Regions from separate parts of the Homo sapiens genome. Here region 1 is linked to region 2. Evidence: promoter capture Hi-C in human tissues and cell types (Jung and others, 2019). All regions are on one chromosome and are shown on one strand. Each heading gives the region's core, a stretch centred on a gene start or on the middle of the fragment in contact. The rest is flanking DNA. Distances are from core to core; before and after follow the strand shown. Region 1 overlaps TRPS1 (transcriptional repressor GATA binding 1). Region 2 holds the start of RAD21 (RAD21 cohesin complex component).

What was found. The method cuts DNA at HindIII sites, captures the fragments that hold promoters and counts their contacts. A contact is called where the count stands out against the background at its distance.
Region 1: a fragment that was not itself captured here is called in contact with the fragment with the promoter of RAD21 in region 2 in 1 of the 25 tissues and cell types used here (dorsolateral prefrontal cortex).

What each region holds. Positions count from the first base shown.
Region 1 is chr8:115,577,636-115,583,156 of GRCh38, reverse strand. The region is part of intron 5 of TRPS1 (transcriptional repressor GATA binding 1); the gene reads left to right. Among named protein-coding and RNA genes, the nearest start is that of TRPS1-AS1, 71 kb to the right of the region's middle. The HindIII fragment of the contact is 4,638 bases long and covers 1-4,513 here.
Region 2 is chr8:116,872,164-116,877,959 of GRCh38, reverse strand. RAD21 (RAD21 cohesin complex component) reads left to right here and starts at 3,184. Exons shown (of 14, transcript NM_006265.3): 1 at 3,184-3,349. It overlaps RAD21-AS1 (RAD21 antisense RNA 1), which reads right to left and starts at 3,536. Exons shown (of 2, transcript NR_033886.1): 1 at 2,975-3,536; 2 at 1,092-2,539. It overlaps MIR3610 (microRNA 3610), which reads left to right and starts at 3,160; the gene lies at 3,160-3,232. RefSeq lists an enhancer at 3,187-3,236 and silencers at 3,347-3,666, 3,827-3,876. The HindIII fragment of the contact is 11,155 bases long and covers 1-5,796 here.

The sequences.
Region 1 (5,521 bases), core at 945-3,444, 1.3 Mb after region 2:
ATTTTTAGATTGGATATTCCATTGCAGAAAACTTGGCTTTTTATCTGATAACTACATGAATAAGGATCCAAAAATCGATCATTAAATTTCACAAAAAAATTAACCAACATTGTGTAGTTTTTCATTTGTTAATAAAATACGGAAGTACAGTTAAGCTTATTGGGTGAGTCTTTAGGGGGAGCTCATGGAAAATCAACATTCAGGTAAACTCCTCCATGTTATTTGTCAAAACGGAATGTTATAGATAACTTGTAGCTCAGGTTCTTCCATAGGTTCAAATGCTGTAGTTATTAGAGCACTTTTTTCTTGCAGCTAGAGGAAAGATAAATCTCCTTGAGATTGATCTTGGTTTCCAGTTTAAATTTCTTTAGAAAAGTCTGTCAGTTGTAACATCTACATTTTGTGCTACTTGGCTTCAGCGGAGATGCTCAACCATGGGCCTGGGGAGTTGAGTTCCAAGTTCTGGAAGTTGAGTTCCAAGTTGAGCCACTGACTTTCAAAGGAAGGGCCTCCCAGGATCTCCGTTCATCTGTCGCTTGGAGAGGATCATGCTGCCTGCCACCCTCACAGGAGTGTTGTGCAGCTTAGTTAATTAACGTTTGTCAGGCCATTTGAGATCCTCAGATGCAGAGTGCTAGATAAGTGGAAATAGTCTGATTATTTGTTCATTTTGTAAGTGTGATACCAGGACAGTACAATGAGAATGTTATTTCCCCTTTTCTTCAGCAGCGTTAAATTTATAGTTTAAAGATTGTTGATACCGGACAGACTATTGAGATGCAAAAATGTTCTTTTGGGGACAGTCCATTGGCAGCCAAACAGACGTTTAAACAAGTGACAATGTTGAATGCCTTTACAACCACTGACAGAAGACTGCAGGAGCTTTTTTTTAACTAAAGATGGTCTGAAGTGAAAAGTGATATTCATTGTTTTGCTTCATATTTAATTAAAATGAAAGCAAAATTCCAGTTATCAAAGAGGTAGCACTGACTTAATGTTTATGTACATAACTGTTTTCTCACCCGATTTGGACTTTTTACATGTGCATAAGTAAAATACCAAAGAGATCAGACTATATCAGGAAAAATGGGAAGTATATACCTCTCTAAACACTGGTTATGAAGCCATGACTTTAGGCCCTGTTGGTAGTTTCTCTTTAGGTAGCAGTTGATATTTTCTTTGCCTGAGAGTAAAATAAATGATTAAAAACTATTGACTATATGCAGAGATGAAAAATCCTTGTACATGTCTCTGCTTCTGTGCCATATAGATGTATTTCTGTTGACATCTATTTGAAAAATATATGATTTAAACTCAAATATGTTTTAGTTTAGATTTTAAAAATACAATCCATGTATCAAATTCATTATGTGTAATAGTGAACATGACAGTTCTGTTTTACCGTGTAAAAGTGAAGTAGCTTTTTCTTATTTATTGATTATTCATCTTTTACATTTATATACCATTTTTGACAGTAGAAAGTTGTCAAATTCGTTCCATATTCCATAGGTATAGAAGTTTGGTTTTATTAGTTTGATTAATGAGATTTTTAAGCAATCTAATTTCTTTTCTATAAGTCTGCTTCATTAACCCACACATTTTTTAAAGCACTTTTTTTTTAATGCACACACAATAATTGTACATATTGTGGGGAACATAGTGCTGTTGTGATACATATAATGTGTGGTGGAAGGATTAGGGTAATTTGTATATCCATCACCTCAACATTTGTAATTTCTTTGTATTAGGGACATTCACTATTCCAGCTATTTGAAACTACATACTACTGTTAAGTACAGGCGTCCTACAGTGCTACAGAACACTGAAACTTACTCCTCCCGTCTAGCTATAACTTCATATCCTTCAACAAATCTCTGCCTATTCTCCCTTTCCCCCTACCCTTCCTATCCTCTAATATCTTCTCTTCCGTTTTTGGTTTCTACAAGATAAATTTTTTTTTTTTTTAGCTTCCACATATAAGTGAGAACATGCAGTGTTTAACTTTCTATTCCAGGCTTATTTCACTTAAAATAACGTTCGCCTGTTCTATTCACGTTGCTGCAAGTGACAGAATTTTATTCTTTTTTTATGACTGAATATATTCCATTGTGTGTATTTACCTCATTTTGTTTATTCATTTATCTGTCGTTGGACACCTAGGCTGATTCCGTATCTTGATTATTGTCAATAGTGCTGCAGTGAACATGGGGGTACAGGTGTCTCTTTAATATACTAATTTCCTTTCCTTTGGAAAAATACTCAGGAGAGGGATTGCTAGATCATGTATGTAGCTCTGTTTGCGGTTTTTTTGAGGAGCCTCCATACTGTTCTCCATAGTGGCTGCCCTAGTTTACACTCCCACCCACATTAATAGCACTTGAAAAACGACAACAACAATGTTTTTGTAACCTAGGCTGTTTGTGAGGTCTGGCATAGTTCTGCTGGCCCAGGTTTCTAAAGCAGGTGAAGCAGATGTATCTTAGTGAATTGGACTGTAGGTTTGCAGCTACTGTGAAATGTTATCCTTTAGTGCAGTATCTGTTCATTATTTCCTATATAACTATCTTTTGCTTGGCTTCTCTTTTCCATGGACTGCATGAGTCAGGACATAACAGGGCCCCCAAAAGAACCCATTGTTGAGCATTCTTAGATGTTGGAAGTGAAGAGTATACAGAAGGTGGCCCAAGTTTCAGGAGCACAGGGCCAGAATGATTCAAAAATGAGGTATGTAGTGTTGATGTGAATCTGGTAATTTTCCGGCAGAGCCCAGTCTGATGGGTCCATTTTACAGGCACATTAATACCTAAAATGCCACAACGAGGTTTTATTTTGGATTTTTGGGGATTTTGTTATTTTCACCAAAAAGGTAAATATTATCTCCATTGTCTCTCATATATATATATATATATATTTTTTTTTTTTCTTCTCTCCCTTCCATTAGATACTGTTCAAAACTTTCCTTAAGTGTTTGTAAGCAAAGGCATTGATTAGTAGACTGCTCTGCTTGTTAACTCAAGGAAGCTTGGCAAGCTAGGTACTGCTGTATCTAGTTGTGTTATCAGTTTAAGGAAAGGCAAATTGTTTCATTGATGTTTGAAGACCCTTTTTCCTTTTGGAGAAGCAATACTACTTATAGACTTTTATTATGAACTATAATTTACAAATACAAGGAAGTCTGGAACACAGCTTTATATCAGTGGTTAGGAGTGAAGCAAAGGAATCTTAGTTTTGTTTTTTTCTGATGACAGCACACTTGTGATAAATTGAGCGTTTGGCATCATTGTTCATCTCAGAATGATTAAATGCCTCCCTCTCACTTGTAATTTTATATGTTAACTTGCCTCTTTTAAACAAGGCAGTTTCTTAATTTTGAAGAATTACTTTGGACATATTAATTAGGAAAAGGATAAACCATTTTCTACCATGGAAATTTATATATGTGTAACATCATGAATAACCAGAAAATGCTAAGTATATACACTATAGATATCTATTTTTAAAGGCAAAATACACTTTATAATTTTTGCTACCATTAAAAAAGGTACTGATTATGAATCAAACTTTTATGAGAATTTAGGTACAAAATGGAAAAGATTTTTAAAATAGATTTCTGGTTAAAATGATATTTTGTGTGAAGGAAGTGATAAGATCCCTGACAACATGATTTATTGAATTGCATTTGCCTGTAGTGTTACATTTAGTTTAAATTTTTATACAAGACTGATGCTTGATCATAAAAAAAGTCTTGGTAGACAAAGCACATAGAATCTCAGGGAATTAACTTTCTGATTGTAGCTATATACATTGGGTAACACAAGAATACCTGTTTGTAGGTGTTAAATTTGAATTCTTAATGAAGAAAAGAAAATCTGGTGAAACTACTTTAAAACAATTGTATAGGAAAGCATTACAAAAAATATTTGGTTAAAATAGACGGATATTTATAACTGGTTGTCAATTTAGCATTCAGTTTCTAGGATTAAGCTTACTACCTTTCCATTAATTTATTACTGGATGGATTCCTTTCATCCTCACCAGAACTCTTTGAGGTTGAAACTATTATTATCCCCATCATTTAAATGAGTAAACTGAGGCTTGGATATTAAGTATTTTGCCTAGATCACACTGCTTATAATGGCAGACATTAAATTCTAGCTCTGGCAATTCTAGAGTCCCTGCTCATAACCATTGCATAGCCTCTTTTGGTTCAATATGGTTTGCTAATAAATACTTGGGTGACTTTCTACAGTTTCAGAATTAATTTGTTTCATCTAAGCATACACGTTTTTATGTGTGTATGTACAAAACAAAATACCTTTTTGAAATTACATAAGTGATACATGCTTATTGCGAAAGAGTTGGATAATACAATATACTGTAAAGAAGATGAAAACCACTCATAAATTCCAACCTGTAAATACTTTCGTGTTCATATTTTGGCATCTAATGTATCCTTTATGTATATTTAAATATATATTTTATTCAAGTATAGGATCATGTACCTCCCTGTTTTATAATTTTCTTTTTTAATTTTTCAGTGTATTGTGGACATCTTTTCTCATCAACAAATACATCCCACAATGTTCATTTTTGTGCCTCATTATACCATGGAATAGTGACATCCTAGTATGTTTAAGACATTCCTTATTAATGAACAATTAGGCTACTTCCAATTTTTAATTATAAAGGACATTTTGAAGGACTTCCTTGTACATATTATTCTATTGCTTTATCATCTTTTTGGGATAATTTCATGTAGTATATTTCCAGTTATTTAAATGAGAAAGTACATGGTTTATAACAAATGGTATTTAACGTCCAAGTCACTGCTATCTAAAGGGGTAATTTTTAAGGTATAAAATAATTTGGCTTATAAAAAATGCGTGGGAAAAATATCCTAGAAATATTTAAGGATTAACTTCTAAATTGTAAATTGACATATTTAATGATAGATTCAAAAAATTAGGAGAAAAGCAAGTGGCAATTTTATCACATATATGGAATACAGTACATGTCCGATACAAGGTAAATAGTATAATAAGCTTACTTTATATTGCATATGCAGTATAGTTTATTCTTTAGAGAAATTGATTTGTAAGAAGAACTCATTTTCTTAAGCAGAGTTGAGTCAAGGGTTTTAATTAAAAGCAGTCTACTCAGGCTTTGCCTTTCTCGGGCGAATAATTTCTCTCTTTTCTCTGCTTTTGCTTTGCCTCCATGGATGATGCTCCTGCTACCCTTCACGCTTTGTCAAACCAGTTTTGAAGTTTTCGCCTTCCCCCGATGTATGTCGCATGTGTGGGTAATGGCATGGGCTTTGAGGGAGTACAAGAGAAAAGAATTGATTTCTCTTTTCTTTAAAAGATGGCATTTAATTATCTTTGTTTTTATTTTTTTGCTGAAATATATTAAATGCACATTGATTCCGTTAAGTATTTTTCTTTGATAAAGTTGTCAGAATGTCAGAATATGCTTTTTTTCTGTTATTGATGCATAATATTTCATACATTGGTGAGGTATA
Region 2 (5,796 bases), core at 1,935-4,434:
TTCCCACATGATTAGTTTTGAGGTCATTTAGCAGCTGATACACCGAAATTATTTTGAAGTGAAGAATTAAATTGTTCACTGGCAGAAATCTAATTTCTGTTGCAAGGAGTTTAATTGTTAATGAGCTTGTATTTTTTTTTTTTTTGAGATGATGCAACAACTGCCACTGTTGAGTTTGCTTAAAGCCACACCAGCAGGAAGGATTTAAGTGCTTTGAGCATCTAATCTATATTGGTCGAGGGAAAGCATGCTTAAAATGTTAAAAGTGCTTGTACTCCTTCACTCCCCAGCTTGGGATTTTAACAACTATCCTTAATGCCAATTTCTTAAAGTCTCCATTAAAAACAAACCAAAAGAACATAAAATATTTGGCTAACTACAACAGAAATTCACTTGATAAAGCTTTGAGCTGTGGCCAGTATGGCCACTTAGCTAATGGACTCCAGCCAGTGAGACGAACCTTGCCCCAACCCAAAAACAGTGGACCCACAGTGAGTGGAGCACAAGACTGTCCACTTTCTTATCCATCTCCTATATCAGCATAAGAAGGGTAAAAGTGAGGTGTTCTGTGTGTCATTAAAATCCTGGAAGTGTCCAGAAGTAGTGGTTGCTGACAATGAGGAGTATATGGACTTAAATGTCTGCTTTTCCTGTGTGTTTTACTTTAAAATGAAAATACATTCAGAAACTGGACACAAAATTTCTTTTTAAAATACGTTTTTATTATTATGGATTCATAATAGTTGTACACAATTATAAGGTACGTCTGACATTTCAATACAAGCATACAATGTGTAACAAACCATGGTAATTGGGGTATCCATCACCTCAAGTATTTATCATTTCTTTGTGTTAGAAACATTCCAATTCCACTCTTTTAGTTATTTTGAAATATATAGTAAGTTATTAACTATAGTTTCCCTATTGTGCTACCAAACACTAGACTTTATTCCTTCTTTCTAATTGTATTTTTGTACCAAATCTGAGGGGGCAGATTTTGTACTCATCTGCCCCCTCCCCACTACCTTTCCCAGGCTCTGGTAACCATCATTCTACCTTCTATCTCAATGAGTTCTTTTTTTTTTTTTTAAGCTCCCACATATTAGTGTGAACATTCACACTAATGTCTTTCTGTGCCTGGTTTATTTCACTTAATGTCTTCCAGTTCTATCCATGTTGCAGCAAATGAAAGGACTTTTTTTCTTTTTTATGGCTGAAAAATATTATCTTGTGTATGTGTACCACATTTTCTTTACCCATCTATCCACTGATGGACACTTACGTTGATACCATATCTTGACAATTGTGAATCTTGCTGCAATAAATGTGAGAGGGCAGATACCACTCTGATGTACTGATTTCCTTTTTTTTTGGGGGGGGGTATTTACTCAGGAGTGGGATTGCTGGCTCATATGGTGGCTCTATATTTAGGTTTTTAAGGAATCTCTATACTGTTCTTCACAGTGCTGTACTAACATACATTCCTACCAACAGTGTACGAGTGTTTCTCTTTCTCCACATCTTTATCAGCATTCATTATTGCCTGTATTTTGGATAAAAGCCATTTCAACTGGGATGAGATTATACCTCATCCTAGTTTTGATATGCATTTCTCTGATGATTAGTGATGTTAAGCATTTTTTCATATCCCTGTTGGCCATTTGTATGTCTTTTTTGAGAAATAACCATTCAGGTCTTTTGCTCAATTTTAATTGGATTATTTTCCTATTATATTGTTTGAGCTCCTTATATATTATGGCTATTAATTCTGTGATAGATGAGTAGTTTGCAAGTATTTTCCCCCACTTGATGGGTTGTCTCTTCACTTTGTTGTTTGCTTTGCAGAAGGTTCTTAGCTTGGCATGATCCCATTTGTCCATTTTTGCTTTGCTTGCCTATGCTTTTAAGGTCTTACTAAGAAATATTTGGTTCTGGAGCATTTCCCTAACGTTTTCTTCTAGTAGTTTCAATAGTTTCAAATCTTAGATTCCAGTCTTCAAGCCATTTTGTTTTGATTTTTTTAATATGGCAAAAGATAGTGATCTGTTTCATTCTTCTACATATAGTTATCTAGTTTTTCCAGAACAATTTTTGGAAGAGACCATCCTTTTCCCAACGTATGTTCTTGGCAGCTTTGTCAGAAATTAGTTGACTGTATATGTATTGATTTATTTATAGGTCCTCTATTCTGTTCCGTTAGTCTATGTGTCTGTTTTTATGCCAGCACCATGCTGTTTTGTTTACTATCACTTTGTAGTATAATTTGAAGTCAGGTAATGTGATGCCTCCAGCTTTATTCTTTTGCTCAGGATTGCTTTGGCTATTCTTGGTCTTATTGTGGTTCCATATAAATTTTAGGATTTTTTTCCTCTTTCTGTGAAGAATGTCATTGATATTTTGATAGGGATTACATTGAATCTGTAGATTGCTCTGGGTAGTATGGAAATTTTAACAATATTGATTCTTCCAATCCATGAACATGGAATATATTTCCATTTTTGTGTGTCCTCTTCAATTTCTTTCATCACTGGAAAGATCTCTACAATAAAAACAAAAGTAAATTTCTTCGTGGTACAAGTAAGTCTTTTAAGATAAGAAATTTTAAGATTCCTCCCAAGCAATACTGAAAATTTCCAAAAGGCAGTTATTATCTCTGTTATATTAATCATTATATCCAGAGCCCAACGTGTAGCAAACAGAAGACCCTCTATAATATAGGTTGACTGAATAAATGAACCTCTATATTTTATGGAATTAGTTTGAGGTTTTTATGTTACTTTCATCCCTATAGAGCCATAAAATGAATTTTTTGGTGGGGGCACACAAAATTGCACCACGACAGCTTTTTTCTTTAAAACAAGCACAAGAATAAAGCTAAACGCAAATATTCACCGCACTGGAAAGCACTGCGCGTGCGCTATCTTACGCTATTGGCTAACACCGCAACTCTCAAAGACCCTCGCAAGAGAATCACCTTTGCGCTTGCTCAGTTGTGGACTCCACAAACAGAGGGCGGGTTCCAAAGAAAAGGAAATAGTCATTGCGCCTGCGCCGCTCCTTCTGGGGGGAGGGGGGGGCTTGGGCTGGCTGCGCAGGCGCACAGGTACCATTTTGACCGTAAACATCCTGCCGATTTGAACCGAGGATTTGGGCGGCAGGAAGAGCCGCGGCGTAACGGCAGCCATCTTGTTTGTTTGAGTGAATCGGAAAGGAGGCGCCGGCTGTGGCGGCGGCGGGAGCTGCTCGGAAGCTACACCTCGCAAGGGCTCCCCCCTTTCCCCACCCCCTCCCCCGACCCTTTTCCCCTCCCCGGGCCACCCAGCCCGCCCAACTCCCAGCGGAGAGCAAGGTAAGAGACTCGGCCGACCCCTTCTTTTCCTCCAGCTCCCTCCCCCCACCCTTTCCCCGCCGCTCTGCCGTCGGGGAGCCGGACTCCTGGGGGCGGGAGGGCGAGGGAGAAGGCAGCCCTCGCCGCGCCCACGCGTGCTGCCACCCTCCCGGCGCCCAAGCGGCGGCGCCACCCGCCCAGCCCCCTTCGCCCCGGGCCCGCCCTCGGCCCGGACCCATGCAGCTTGGGCCCGCATCATCGCTTGTTCGGTAACAAATGATTCTGATCCATTCTGAGATCTACAAAGGCTGTTACCCTGCAGGTCCATCTCACGTCCCCCAGGAGGCCGGGGAAACCCTGGGCTGCGGAGGGAGGGGAGGAGGTTTGAACGAGCCCGCTCTGGGGACCGGGCCGCCTACTCCGCGGGTAAAAATGGCTGTCTGGGAGGAGGCGGTGGCGGGCCCGGCGCCCGCGGTGCCAGCCCCGGGAGCAGCAACCTTCCGCCGAACTCGGGTGCGGGGCTCAAGAAAGTGCGGAGCTGGTGGGGCTGGGCGGGGTGGGGCGGGGGGTCGGCGGGTGCCCCTCGGCCAGTGACTGCTGCTGCCCTCCCGTTTTAAAAAGATAATTTTTACGTTGGGAATGCTGAATATTTCACAGACGCGTGGAAAAAGAGACGGAGGGAAGTTGCTTCTTTTTCCAAGGATATTTGCATAATTGGTTTTCCCCTGAACTTTTCTGATCATTCTTTAAAGTGATTAAGGATATCGGGTGTTGTAGAGACGCTCTGGGGGAGGTGTGTGTTTCTGATAAATGCTTGATGCCCTTTTCGTCGCTGAAAAAGGCTTTTTGCGAATGATCCGCTTTGATAGTGTGGGGTGACACTGTCGGGTTGTGCTGCCAGACTTAGCGGCCTTCTTCAAATTTGTAAGAGGGAAACCCTGGGGGATTTACTTGGTCACTCTGATTTGTTAGTGTCTTCAGCGTGAAAAAAAAAACAGCGTTTGTGCGAAGAGTTTCTGGGAAAGGCTTGTGTTTATCGGCTTCTTTTTGCAAGGGAAAGTTAATCTTTGTTGTCATTATACTGGTTAGAAGAGTAATTGGTTTTCAGGCAAAAATTTCTATTTTCTTAAATTGGGTGTAAATGCCAGCGGGCAGTGCGAGTCTATAGAATTTTGGAGACAGGCAGGAGAAGGTTTCTCAAATCGTGAAGTCATTAAATACCTTTGTTAATGTCGGAGGCAACTAATTATTTTTGGAAAGGCATTGATGAGGACATACGCCATATCTGATCTTCAAATAAGTTAACAGTTTGTATAGTTGAGGTGACAGCAGTGCATAACTAATAGACATAGTGCTTTTTTTTATACACAAGTCAGAATTACAAAAGAATTTCTGGTGAATTATTTTGTGAAACATACAAATTCTAAGAAACGCTTTTACAGTTTGGTACAGAATGGAAATTTTCTAATTCTTGAGAAATAAGGTTGTGTTTTTAGTTTAAATGTCAAACCAGAGTTGTTAGGCATGATTATACTGGCTGGTTAATGTTTTGCTGCAAGATTGTCTTCAGAGTTACTTTTCGCATCAGCAGTGGCACTATGTTAGGTGTGCCCTTGTATTTAATTTTCATAATCTTTTTTGATGAATATTATCCCAGTTTATAGTTGAGAAGTAACTTATTCACCGTTACAAAACAACTGAGCAAAGAGGGAGCTTAATTTGAACCTACGACTGTCTGATTGTAAAACTCTTGGTCAAAGGATGTTAGAACCAAAACAGAGGAGATTTCTAGTGTGCAGGGTTAGAAATATCTTCAGAGATCCTTCCCCCTACTCCCCTGAAGAGGTAGCTCCGTTCTGATCTGAGTTAGGTATTGACGTTTTCAAAGGTTAGGTAAACCACCAGATTTCAACCTTTCAGGTTTTCATAGTAGGGAAACTGAACTGCATAAAGGTTAGGCAGCTTAACTGCTAGTTAATGACAATAGCAGGATTATGTCTTTACTTCTGAGATAGTAGTTTTTACTTTGAATAGGTGGTGTACATTTATGTCCCGAGTTAAAATATGTGTGTGTGTGTGTGTGTGTGTGTGTATGTATATATATATATCAAACAGTACAAAAAGGTAGGCCTCACTTGCCCTGCATACCTACTTTCCAGAGGTAACCAGTATCACCAGTTTCATGTGTACGCCACAGGTATTTTAAGCTTATTCAAGAACTCGTAAATATATAGAGAAAGAGCATTCTTTTTTAAAACTCCAACTTTTTTGCACTTAACCTGGAGATTTTCCATGTTAGTACAAATGTTGTATTCTTGTTTAAAGTTGTACTGTACAATTGTCCCTTGATATTAAAGGGGAATTGGTTCCAGAACCAAAACCACGAATGCTCAAGTCGCTTATATGAAATAGTGTAGTATTTGCATATAACCTACTAACATCCCATATACTTCAAATCATCTCCATTT